Regions from separate parts of the Homo sapiens genome. Here region 2 is linked to region 1. Evidence: promoter capture Hi-C in 16 types of primary human blood cells and fetal thymus (Javierre and others, 2016). All regions are on one chromosome and are shown on one strand. Each heading gives the region's core, a stretch centred on a gene start or on the middle of the fragment in contact. The rest is flanking DNA. Distances are from core to core; before and after follow the strand shown. Region 1 holds the start of VAMP4 (vesicle associated membrane protein 4). Region 2 holds the start of RC3H1 (ring finger and CCCH-type domains 1).

Region 1 (6,334 bases), core at 1,381-3,880:
TCACATGCTTTTTTGCTTGCTTTAACCTTGCTTTCCTGAGAGTATTTCCCTACGAAGGGAGAGACTGGATTGCAGATCTTCTGCTCAACTCCTTCTTTCTCAGTCACTGATAGATGAAAAATGGTATTTCCTTGTTCACTTTTACATTTTAAGTAATGTTGAACATTTAGCAACAAAATATTGAAAGCTAGAAGGGAGATGAATCAAGATGCAATTGCCTTAGCAGACTTGAAAAGTAGGAATCCCAAGCAGGCCATGAAGCAACCTGATACACACAGTGAAACCCTGTATAAGGCTCAGGAATTGGAAACACCACGTAAAGCTGAAGAGAGCATGATGTGAGCTATAAATACAGGCGGAATGGTATAAAGTCTGTTTAAGAATGAATCAGATGCTGAGATTCCCTTTGCTATCCCATCAAAAACCCAGAGATTTAGTCCTGAAAGACAGCAAAACGCTGATTCTCTAGCTAGGAGGACAGCAGGCCCTCTTAAGGATGAAGGTGTCATGTTGAAAAAGGGGAAAAGAAAATTAGAGGACTAACATCTGAATAACTGAAGCTCACTAAAAAGAAAATGGAGGAAATAAGTAACTCAAGTTGCTTGGAGTTCTGACTCTAAGCTCAGTGCTATTATAATCTTTTAGGCTTACTGGTATATTTGATTCATGTTAACTGTAAAATGACATTTTCTAAGTTTCACAAATATTGGGGTTAGTCAAAGGGACTTTGTTCAGGTGATTAAGGGTGGGGCTTGCATTACCCCTCTCCTAAGCGATCATTCCAAAATGACTGGCAGGACTAAAGAATTATGTTTAAAAAACAAAAAAACCCAAAGAATGGATTATCTGTAAAAGCTATGCAATGACGTGCCTGTTAGAGCTCACTGACCACACCTTAAGTTGTCTAAGAGATGAGGCTATAACTAGCTAAACTCTAATTGGCTAAGGCACCAAAGCCAGAAAATAGCCCATAACATGCAAATATACAGACATAAAATCAACTGTAAGTGCTGGGCACAGCTGCTCATGCCTGTAATCCCAGCTACTTGGGAGGCAGAGGCAGGAAGATCACTTTAGCTCAGGAGTTCAGAGCTGCTGTGCGCTATGATTGTGTCACTGCACTCCAGCCTGGGGGAAGAAGTGAGACTTCATCTCAAAAAAAAAAAAAAGATCAGCTGTAGAAGAAAAAATAATGTCAGGGTTACCTGTGGAGTCTGGGGGTAGACCCACTATCACACCTAGACAGGGATACAAACCATGAGAGGCTTCTCTTCTAAGTGGGCCGTTTCAGTCCAAGTTGCTGACTTGGACAGCAACTTGGACTGAATAAACACAGGCAACTGAGTTTAGCATTAAGCTTTCAGAACCTTCAACTGACAACTCAACGGCTGTTTCTAAATCTCAGAACATTTAAATCAGAATCTAGGTAGCACGTGGGCACCTACGTAGTTTTAAAAGCTTTCCAAGTGATTCAACTCCAAGTGAATCAGAGTGGAGCATCGTTGCCTTAGTCATGGCATCTTTCAAATTCGTTAGTACATTTTTACATAAAAATAAACATCAAACAAAAGAAGAACAACTTTTTGGTAAGAGGGTGTCTATTCTTTCCTTTCCTTTAGTGTCCGCAGATCTTTCCTCCTGCTGTTTTCTTGTCTACTCTTGTTCTTGAACACCCCCTCTTATTTTTATGTCTTTAGAAAGTGCCTGGCACAGTATTTCAGACAGTTAAAATACTGTATCAACAAAGGACCCATAGATACTGTATTAATTTTAAAAGATGTGTAGTGAATATGATTCAATGAGTAAAATAATCCAGCTGGGGCGTGGGAGGAACGGATAATAAAACAAATAAGAGAACGGAAAAACAAAATTAGGAATTGTTTCTGGTAGACAGCTACTGCGGGCGTGGAGATCTAAACATGATACCAAATTGGGCGGAGGGGGAGGGAGTGAGGAAGGAATGGGCAGAGTGGCGGAATGGCCTGGCGAGGGCGATTTCCTGAAGGCTTTCAGGTTACAACTAAGGGATACCGGGAAAAGAACACCGAGCCCTCGTCCCGTATCTATCTAAACTAGCCGTGTTAACTTTAAGTCAATCTCCTCTCTGAACCAGATATTCCTCCTATCTAAAGGGAGGAGCCTGGCCTTAACATCTCTTTCCAAGTCTAGCTCTAATTCTGTAAACAGGGGATCAAACAGATCTCCTTTCTTCAGAAAAGGCCCCAGACGAACCCGAAGCAGGTCCTCGAGCTGCGAGCCACTCTCCACTTGCCACTCAACGTAGTCAGCCAGAGGGACGGATGTGCCACCAAGCACCACCTTCTTTCTAACGCCTCATCACCCCAGCCACGCACTCCGGCGCGGCGCCCAGTCCCGAGCGGTTCTCGGAAGTTTCCCACTCCTCCCCTAATCGCCCTCCACGCACGCCGGATCACGACCGGAACGTGGACAACCAGTGGTTGTTCCTCCCCTAAAGCACAGCATAAATTTGGAGAGATGCATCTAAACTGCGTGTGGGTTCGGGCTCTTTTAGGTGAATAGGGCTCGGCGGATCGACTTCCTCGATTATCTCCGTGCCCTGGACCCGCCCCCTCCGCCTGGCGCCAGGCCGCCGAGCGCCGATCGGCTCGATGAGCGGAGGCGCTGCTGCGGCGCTGCGGCCGACGCCGGGTCCGCACCAACTGTCTCCCCCTCCCAGCTTCTTACCTCGGCTTCCTACTCCTTCCCCCGCCCGCCCAGCACCGCCAGCCCGGGAGAGCTGCCGGGAGTTCCCCGGGAGCCTCAGGTACTGGCGCTGGCCTGTTCGCAGCGGGAGGGGCTGGTGTGAGGAGGAAGGAAACGAAGAAGACGCCCCTGCCTTGCCGCCCCCCGACGTCCTAGTCGGGCTGGTCGGCGGGCCTCGGGGATCTAGGAAGGGACCCCGGAGTGGGAAAAGGTTGGGGCCGGGGGTGCCGTGAGGAAGGAAGACGAGGACAGGGGTATGCGGACGAGGAGCAGTTGAGGGAGAGAAGAATTGGAATTGAGGGGTACTCTGGGGTGATGGGAAGAGAACAGTACCATGGATGGGGAAGGTTTGTTAAGAGTGGGATGTAGTGAGGAATTCCAGGGGGTACAATGGGGCAGGAAGGGCCAGCGTTAGGAGCAGATATATCGTGGGACGTGGCCTGGTGTGACAGATTGGGTGTGGGGGGTGAACGGAGCTGCCTGAAATTGTGTATTTAAAGGGCCCGGGGGAAAGAGCGCCAACCCTGCTGTGTTTATAATGACCGGAAGGTGGGGGTGAATCGTTACACTTGACAGGTTTTGCAAATAATATCTCCGGTCTGTGTCCATCCAAGTCACTTTATTTCTGTGAAACTGCATCAAGCAAGAAGGCTGATGACAGACAAGGAAGACGAATCAGAAAGAGAATGGAGGCTGGGAAAAGGAGAGCCTTTGCCCAGATTCAAAGCTATTGACTAGATAACGTACTACTTACAAAAACGCACACATAGACATTTAAGTATATGCTGATGTATAAGAAGCATACGGTGATGTGACTCATTTGAGTGAATTGTATAGTGGTGGTCTATCCTCAATGTGGAAGTACATGATGGCTCTCTTATTTACATGTATACCTAGTCACAAACAGCTGAATTCACATGTCTTTTTTTGTAGGAGAAATCTTAGGCAGACTATATCCTAGTCTACTTTCTGAGCATGATTTATTTCTACTAGTTGTTTGATACACATATCAGTTACTAATAATCAGTTGCAAATAACATCAAAGTTCATCAAGGTAGCTAATTAATCTGCCTACTGCTTTGCTGATGGGCTATTTGTTGCACATGGTTTCTTGGGATTAAGAGACCTGAATATGGTGTTTGCTCATCCTTAAGATTGTAGTTTTACTGTATGTCTTATAAAGGCATTATATAAGTCTGCCCGTTGTTTGCTTTGGGATGTTGAGGCAGCCTCATTGCAGGGGTTAAAATCTAAATACAGATAATAGTTAAAAGCACAAGTTCTTCAGTAATTTGCCTTGTCATCTGTTTTTCCATGCATTCTGTTACATTTCTGCATGAATGAAGTATTCTGACATCAAAGTATGAGGAATAAAAGGGCCAGATGTATGTGACAGAAATATTGTGGAACCAAGAACTCAAGAGCTGTTACTCAGGCAGCAAGAATTTGGTTTTTGTTACAAGTGAATAATTTCTGATTTGGAAGCATTTCTTATCAAAGAAAAGTGTGTCCTTTGGTTTTGACAAGCAGCTGACTTAAAACATTACTTTTATTTGGTTCGTGAAGCCAGATCCTGGGATTATTCTTTTTTAAGTGTATATCATTAACAAACAAACTGATGTCTAACTATACCTAATTTAAAGGTCTAAGTGTTTCTTCTTATGGAAAAGGAAGCAGGACTATTGGGTTGTTAGCAGGAAGTGAGTCTTTCTAGAACAGAATTCTGTAAACCTGATGGGCAACTAATTGAACAAATGATTAAAACTGATAATGCACAGCCATTGATTAATTTAGGCCTGTATCTCTGCTGTTTCAATGAATGTAGTGACTAACGTTATCGTTACTAAACTTTAGTTTTCTCCTAGTTTCTTGGTGCCTACTTTAAAGAAGCATCATAAAGAGTAAAAGAAAATGCATGTGTATCACTGAGCACCGTGCCTAGCACATAGTAAAACATTCAGTATTTCTGAGCTATCCTGAATTGATGGGTATTCATCTACCATCTAGTCAAAAATACTGAAAATTCATTATTTGCATAGAAGAACTTTTTCGCAAAAAAAAATTTTAGTATGTTGCATACACAAGCATTTTCCTGGAAAGTCACAATGCATATTAGCATATAACAGGATGTGAGTCATTCTGTAGCAAAGAAAACTAGCTTTGTTTAATCCAGTTGTTTTGATAGAAAAAAATTGAGTTTCTCCTATTCTCTCTCAACACAGACCCCCAAAAGATTTCTCCTCACAAGCAAGGAGGAAATTCTGCAGCAGATTCTCCAGCTGGGTGTCCTCTAATTCAATTCTGATACTGTATACCTAGAGATAGCATCAGATCCTGCAGGTTGAGGGCTTAATCCTACAAGATTCCCCCCACTTCAGGTGCCAATCACAAGTTCCAGGTTGTTTTACCTGTGTTTCCAACTGACTGGCTATAAATCAGAGTTCCCACAATCCCTTCCTTGTGTTCAGTTTATTTGCTAGAGTGGCTTACAGAATTAAGAGAAACACTTTGTTTACTGGTTTATTATAAAGGATAGAGATCAACAGCCAGATGGAAGAGGTGCATAGGGCAAGGGGTACAGAGCTTCTGTGCCCTCTCCAGGTGTGCCACCGTCCAGGAACTCTCTACTTGTTCAGCTTTTGGGAAGCTCTCTGAACCCTGTCCTTTTTGGGTTTTATGGAGTCTTCCTTAGTAGGCATGATTGATTACATCATTGGCTATTAGAAATCAGTTCAACCTTGAGCCCTCCTCCCCTTCCAGGAAGCTAGGGGGTGGGGCTGTAAAGTCCCAGTCTTCTAATCATGCCTAGGTTTTTCTGTGACCAGCCTCCATCTGGAATCTATCTGGGGGCTAAGCTACCAGTCATCTTATTAGCATACACAAGACACATCACTGCAGCGATTCCAAGGATATGTCAGGAAATGGGGATTAAGACCAAATGAGTATATTTTGTAAATCACGATATCACACCAGTACTTACCAAACTTACCCCTTTTCATGGAGTACCAATGGGACATTATAGTTTGCAGAATATTTTTGCATGTATTATCCAATTTGACCGTCCCAACTCTGCAGAAGCCTGAAAATCAGTATTTTACACCTGAGGAAACTGAATCATTGCTTAAGCAACCAACTAAAAGTGAGAGAAATAGGCATGTTCTCCTGTCTTCTGACTCCAACTTTAAATTGTAAAGCATTTAATGTCTCAGTGAGACGTCCTCCCTCTACTCTCTGCTCTTTCATTTTATAAAAATCTTAAATCACTCATATCCTACACATGTTCTCTTAGGGCAATTACATCCATTTTCTCATAATTTTAACTATTTCTTAGGTGTTGAGGTCTAGCATGGAGGCCCCAGTCACTGGAGTGGAACAAGTGAGAGGGCAGGAATTGAAGTCAGAAAAATGAGGGAGTCCCTGTCATACAGGGTTTCATGTACACTGTTTTAAGTACATTAGCTTATGCCCCAAAGTCTCAAATCTGATGAAATTTATTTTCTCTTTAAGGTGGTGACTATCCTGTTGAGAAGCAAAAGATACTTTGCAAGTAAAAAATATGCCTCCCAAGTTTAAGCGCCACCTCAATGATGATGATGTCACAGGTTCTGTG
Region 2 (6,334 bases), core at 1,400-3,899, 2.3 Mb before region 1:
AGTTTCATTCTTGTTGCCCAGGCTGGAGTGCAATGGCACGATCTCGGCTCACTGCAACCTCCGCCTCCCAGGTTCAAAGGATTCTCCTGCCTCAGCCTCCCTAGTAGATGGGATTACAGGTGCCTGCCACCACGCCCAGCTAATTTTTTTGTATTTTTAGTAGAGACGGGGTTTCACCATGTTGGCCAAGCTGGTCTTGAACTCCTGACCTTAGGAGAGCCACCCTCCTCAGCCTCCCAAAGTGCTGGGATTACAGGCGTGGGCCACAATGCTCTGCCAAGACCGAGTCTTGCTGTCATCCAGGCTGGAGTGCAGTGGTACAATCTTGGCTCACTGCAGCCTCTGCCTCTCAGGTTCAAGTGATTCTCCTGCCTCTGTCTCCTGAGTAGCTGGGACTATAGGCGCGCGCCACCACGCCGGGCTTTTTGTATTTTTGGTAGAGACGGGGTTTCACCATGTTGGCCAGAATAGTCTGCATCTCCTGACCTCGTGATCTGCCTGCCTCGGCCTCCCAAAGTGCTGGGATTACAAGCGTGAGCCACCGCTCCCGGCCTTATCCCCTGTATCTTACACTTCTAGTCTGACTGGGGAGTTGAAAACATATGACTTCTCACAGATTAGTTTTTTATTTTTTATTGTAAGCATAAGTGTTTTCTTCAAAGCTGCTCTTCTTTTTCTGTCAAATGCATCTTTATATCACTAAAATGAATTTGGGTTTGGGGAAGCGCCGCCATTTTTAACTTTTTTTTTTTTTTTTTTTTTTTTTTTGAGACAGAGTTTAGCTCTTTTTGCCCAGACTGGAGTGCAATGGCGTGATCTCGGCTCACTACAACCTCCACCTCCCAGGTTCAAGTGATTCTCCTGCCTCAGCCTCCCGAGTAGCTAGGACTATAGGTGCACGCCACCACACCTGGCTAATTTTTGTATTTTTAGTAGAGATGGGGTTTCTCCACGTTGGTCAGGCTCCGGACCTCAGGTGATCCGCCCCCCTCAGCCTCCTAAAATGTTGGGATTACAGGCGTGAGCCACTGCATCTATCTGTCCTTTAACGTATTTTTAATTGAAATATTGACGAGATAAAAATAAACAACGTAAAAATCATACTGCTTAAGGGAACCTTTAAGGAGCCTTACCAACTGTGGTATAACTATTAATAGTTCAAAGAAATTACATTATCTAGGTTACTTGCAATGGAAGTTGAGTTACTCGCTTCACCTAAACAAGGAAGTTGGCATGTTTGCCTAGCAACAGTCGCTAAAACCTTCTGTTGTGGAAGGTTCCCTAGGAGTGAGAAGAAGGGAGGAGGAGGAAAAGCAGGAGGAGCAGATTAATCTGTTTTTCCTAGCAGGGTACAGAGGCCTGGTCTGAGAAGGGAAAGGCTTTAAGAGATCCCTTTAGATTGGCACATGCTAACCTAAATCCCCCTGTGGTAGCTAGAAATTCACTCTCTGTAGGACTGGGGTTACTATTTAGTAGGCTGAAAAGACGATTACAGATTAAACCCAGTTCAGAGGCAGCAAATTCCAATCAGTGGAAAGACAACAATAGGTCTTCTAAACAGAAGCTGAGATCTCAGTAGCAGGAGGGTGCTAACAACTAAAAAGAATTCTTCTCTGCCAAGAGTTTAGGAAGGTGTGTGATATTTCTTAAAAATAATACAAAAACACTATCTGTGATAGCGATTCCAATGTATCAAGTTAAAGGCAGAAGTGCTTCTCTTGGGGTACTGTGATGTAAACAGTGAAGAAAGGACAGAAAAACATAATCTCTGCTCTCTTGGTCAAATCCTGAAGCAAAAAAGGTGATAGCGCCGAGTAGAGGTATTAAATGGTTGTTTATTTGGGGACTCTCTCTCTCCTCTATTCTAGATGATTTATTTTGAAATTAGTACTGTATGGTGTTACAATAATCCCATTTCTTCCCCTTCTCAAAAGCGAGGGTTTGGCTAAAATGAATTGTCTGAAGGGACCTCCCATTCCCCAAAACCAAAACGGCACCTTTTCCACAAGGGACAAGAAACTTTTAAAGAGTCGCAAGGTTAGATTTCAGGAGCCCTTCTATGGGCCATATCTTTTCCTGTCGTCCCCAAATAGCTCTTATTGTTCACACAGCCCAGGAGAGACGTTTTGGAGTAGCGTGTCCGGGCCTTTTGGGCTGTTTCACAGCCTTAGGAGGCTGAACTCCCAGAGGGGTGACGAGGACAAAGCTGATGAGATCCAGAACCTGGATAATATGGAAGAAGAAAAATGGGGTGGGGGACAAGACGTGAAAAAGAAACAAGAGTTGGGGGACAACGGCTGAGAAAGCCGAAAGAGTAGACGTAGTGTGGGGTTCGATGGAAACGAAAGAAATTCCCCCAATTTACTCTCGCCATCTGGCCACTGGCCCGCTGAGCCCAAAGGCGCCGGTGCGGGAGGGCAGACCGGACCGAGGGACCGGTTCATCTGCTCAGGGCGTGTGAGACTTTCGGTCGCGGCGGAGAGCGTCGCCGGTCTCCCTCCGGGCGTTGGTGGCCGGTGACTCAGAGCTTTGCTCCCGCGCCCGCCCCTCCCCTCCGCCCGCCCCGCCTCCTGAGGGAGGATCCTCGCCCTCGTCTCCGCCCCAGTCTCCGGGGCGGGCCGGAGCCTGAGGAAGAGGAAGGGGACGAGGACAACGAGCGACTGGGCGGCGGAGGACGAGGAGGAGGAAGAGGAGGCCGAGCAACAAGATGGCCCCTGCTGCAGGAGCAGCCTCAGCAGCAGCAGGTGGGAGGCCGGAGGCGGTGCTGGCGGTGGCGGCGGCAGCCGTGGCCCGGCGGCCTGGGACAGAATCAGAGTCAACGGTGGCCTCGGCGGCGGCGGCGGCTGCCGCGGCGGTGGCGACGGCCGCGGGGACTCGGAGCTGAGAGGAGCTGCTGCTCGGACCAGCGCGGTGAGCGAGCGGCGGGCGGCGACTTGGGGAGCGGGGCTGCCGCGGCCGGGGCCTCAGTCGGGAACAATAGGCAGCTGTGGTCGGGAAGGGTTTGTCCTCGCCCGCCCTCTGCTCCTCCGCGGCAGCGGCAGCCCGGCCGGCCCCAGGCTCCTCAGGGCCCCCGCCGGCTGTTCTGGGGCTTGTCAGTGGCCGGCGTCCTTTAGGCCTCAGGCCTCTGCATGCCGCCTGTAGGGCCTGTCGGGGTAGGTAGGCCGAGAGGAGGACGAAGGGAGGCTCGGACGAGAGGGAGGGGGCGAAAGGGCTACCTGGCTCCTGTGGTACTCCCAGGGCCTGGGCCAGGCGGGGAATGCGCACGGGAACTGCTTTTTGGACCCCTAGTCTGTGGGGGTGGGGGAGGGCGAAGGCGTCTGTAAACAGGCGCCGCCTCGGCCTCCCAGCACCTCAGGGCTGCTTCCTCCCCCAGCCCCTGAAGCGCTCCCCTTCTTTGGCCAAGTGGATTTCACGGTGTCTGTTTCCCTGAAGTCCCTGGAGATCTAGCCTGGTAGTCTTCTCCCTGCTGGCGATGGGAAAATTGTGTGTGTGCAGGTGTCTTTAAAAAAAAAAAACAAAAAACTTAAATGCAACAAAAACATATAAAATGTGGTTATCGGTAAAGGATGGAGTGGTAAGGGATGCGCCTCTCTAAACATCTCTAAGTATCAGTTCTATAAACATCAGTTATGCCCGCATCCCAGGTGAGAGTGGATTGAAACAAGGGCTCTTTTGGAACAGTAATAACACAACTCTTGACATACCAGAATAGCCTATGAAACTGGAAACAAACACTGGCAACGCGGAGACAAACTGTAATGTTTAAAGAGGACTTTTATTCCAGCTAGGCGTTTTGAATTACTAACATGCAGTATAAGAAGCAACATTAACTAGCATAAAGTGGACCTCAGGAAGCACTTCGAAAGGAGACAGGTGGTTCATCTCCGGCCATAGAGCTTCTTGTGCCTTGTCTCGTGTTTCAGTAATTTTTCCTGAAATTGTTCAAGACCAGTCTTTTCTCTGAGTTTGAAATTTGATTTCGTTTTTGTTTTGTTTTGCGACGGAGTCTTGCTCTGTCACCCAGGCTGGATTGCAGTGGCACAATCTCGGCTCACTACAGCCTCCACCTCCCGGATTCAAGCGATTCTCCTGCCTCACCATCCGGAGTAGCTGGGATTACAGGCGCCCGCCACCATGCCCGGCTGATTTTTGTATTTTTAGTAGAGACGGGGTTTCACCATGTTGGCCAGGCTGGTCTGGAACTCCTGACCTCAAGTCATCTGCCCTCCTCCGCCTCCCAAAGTGCTTGGATTACAGGCGTGAGCCACCTCGCTCAGCCTTAAACTTAATTTTTCAAGGCTTCTACCACATTTTCTTACAAGTGAGGGAAAAGGTAGATTTATTTCTAAAGTACTTTCTACCTAGGTATGCAGAAATTTATATTAAAATCGCTTGGATACATCCAAGGAGATTGCTTTTCACTTGTTAACATTCAACTGCAAGGCCTAAGGGTTATAGGTTGTGTTCTTTTCAGCACTGACCTGTGCTGAAAAGATGCCAGTTAATATCTTTCACCTCTTCTAAGGGTAAATTTCTAAGTAGAATTGGTCCAAGTCTGTTCTAATTAAAAACATTATAAGCAGCACTAGTCTAGTTCTTAGTTCTTCCACAACAATTGACACTGAATAGATTAGCAATTGAATAAACATAAAGGTTGAATTTTCTTGTTTAGGATTTGAAGTATAGTGAATGAATATCAATACTGACCTTCATTTTATGCTTAGCATAAATAATGTTGGAGATGTTTTGATTTTTTGAATGATGGAGAAATAACAACTTTCTATGGCTCCTGATGTTGTGACTTTTTTGCAGATATTTCAGAAAGGACACCGTTTTTCAGGTGCTCAAATCTGTGATTTTTTTTTTTTTTCTGTGCTAATTTTGTTAGGTCAGCACAGATTCCAAGTAAAGTCTGTGTTATAATGATACTTAAATTTATGTATGGCCCTAAACCTATTAGAACAATTGTAGTAATTTATAGGTTGTAAGTTTTAAGTGGTTCATGTGCTGTGTTATGAAAACAATCTCACCGTGTTATGTCAAGGGCAGATTTACCTCATATTTAATATCATTTTCCTGAAAATAAATATTTTTAAGTGGTAAGGTTTTGTATTTCAGATTGGTTATTGACCCAGCAATTTATGGGCTTAGTCTGGGTCCGTATTTCTGTTCAATAGGAAAAAAATTTAGGGAATTGTTTTTATTTATTTTGTGTCAAAACAGTTTTAAGTTTTGACACAAACTCAACTGTCCCTTCTTCAGTATCAATACTTATTACTTAAGTTCACATTTTCTCAGGTAATAAAAATTTACTTCTAAGAAGTTTTGGAACCAGAGCTTAAGAATTAGATTTATATTTTCTTGGTAATATTAAAAGTTAATATATGCTTGATTTATTTGAAGAAATAAAAAAGGGTAATTTGTACACAACGCCTTTCAGAACATATTTGTTGAATGAATAAAAATATTTAAGCTTCCTCATTATGCTGCAGTATTAGTTCTGTTGTCCTCATTTTTTCATATGAAGAATGTGAAGCTAAGAGTAGCTATGTAACCAGCAAAAAGATCACATAATTAATAGGTAAAAGAGCTTACTCAGACTCAGATCTTGTGACACAAATTAGATTCTTTGCCACTACCACATGTGTCACAGTTAAACTTTGAAGCATCTTCTGTGTTGACAGATTCCTTTTTTTGCCTGTGAACTTACCCTATTATCATTATTTGTATCCTGTCAGATATCTACTTGTAAGACCAAGAAAGTATTTGTTCATGTGAATCACAAAAGAAACACTTAAATTTTTGTTTTTAGCATATCTGAATGCTATAAAATATAAAAACTCATACTGTTTACATAGGACAGATTTATCATACTGCTGTAATTGTTTTCATGGTTAATTTGTTACATAGGCAATTACTAAATTGTGCCTTTGAAATACTTTATAAATTTTTTTAAATAATTAAAGATATTCAATGATGTTAAAGTTGGGTCAGCTAATATTTGAAGTTCTTAATTTATAATTTTTTTTCTTTAAGCCATAGATAATTTAGAATTCTGCAGTATTTTTCATCTCCAGATCTTAGGGCTTGAAATGGATTCTGATGGGTCTAATCAGTCCACTCTTGCATATATCTTGAAAATGGTCAGCATCCAACAAAGTGAAGAATAAACTGATAAATGATCCCTGTTTGGTGAACACCTCAGATCAGGATGTTCCTTGGCAGGGTATTCTGACCTGGTTTAGCTTTGGCCCCGTCTGTGCTCAGGGTTCAGGTATTCTGCAGGATTGGGTTCAGAGGGATTAAAATTCTCAGATTGGCCTGTATCAAAACA

The links. Contacts are between HindIII fragments. The CHiCAGO score rates a contact against its expected background, and 5 or more counts as called.
Region 2: a contact is called between the fragment with the promoter of RC3H1 here and the fragment with the promoter of VAMP4 in region 1, in 1 of 17 cell types (non-activated CD4 T cells). The highest score is 6.4, in non-activated CD4 T cells.

Annotation. Positions count from the first base shown.
Region 1 is chr1:171,738,361-171,744,694 of GRCh38, reverse strand. It overlaps VAMP4 (vesicle associated membrane protein 4), which reads left to right and starts at 2,630. Exons shown (of 8, transcript NM_003762.5): 1 at 2,630-2,785; 2 at 6,232-6,334. The coding sequence starts at 6,281. The HindIII fragment of the contact is 4,907 bases long and covers 1,461-6,334 here.
Region 2 is chr1:174,018,672-174,025,005 of GRCh38, reverse strand. It overlaps RC3H1 (ring finger and CCCH-type domains 1), which reads left to right and starts at 2,649. Exons shown (of 20, transcript NM_172071.4): 1 at 2,649-2,910. RC3H1-DT (RC3H1 divergent transcript) reads right to left here and starts at 2,523. Exons shown (of 2, transcript NR_187284.1): 1 at 2,366-2,523; 2 at 1,816-2,223. RefSeq lists silencers at 2,414-2,663, 2,774-3,093 and enhancers at 3,300-3,839, 3,904-4,023. The HindIII fragment of the contact is 5,810 bases long and covers 1-5,475 here.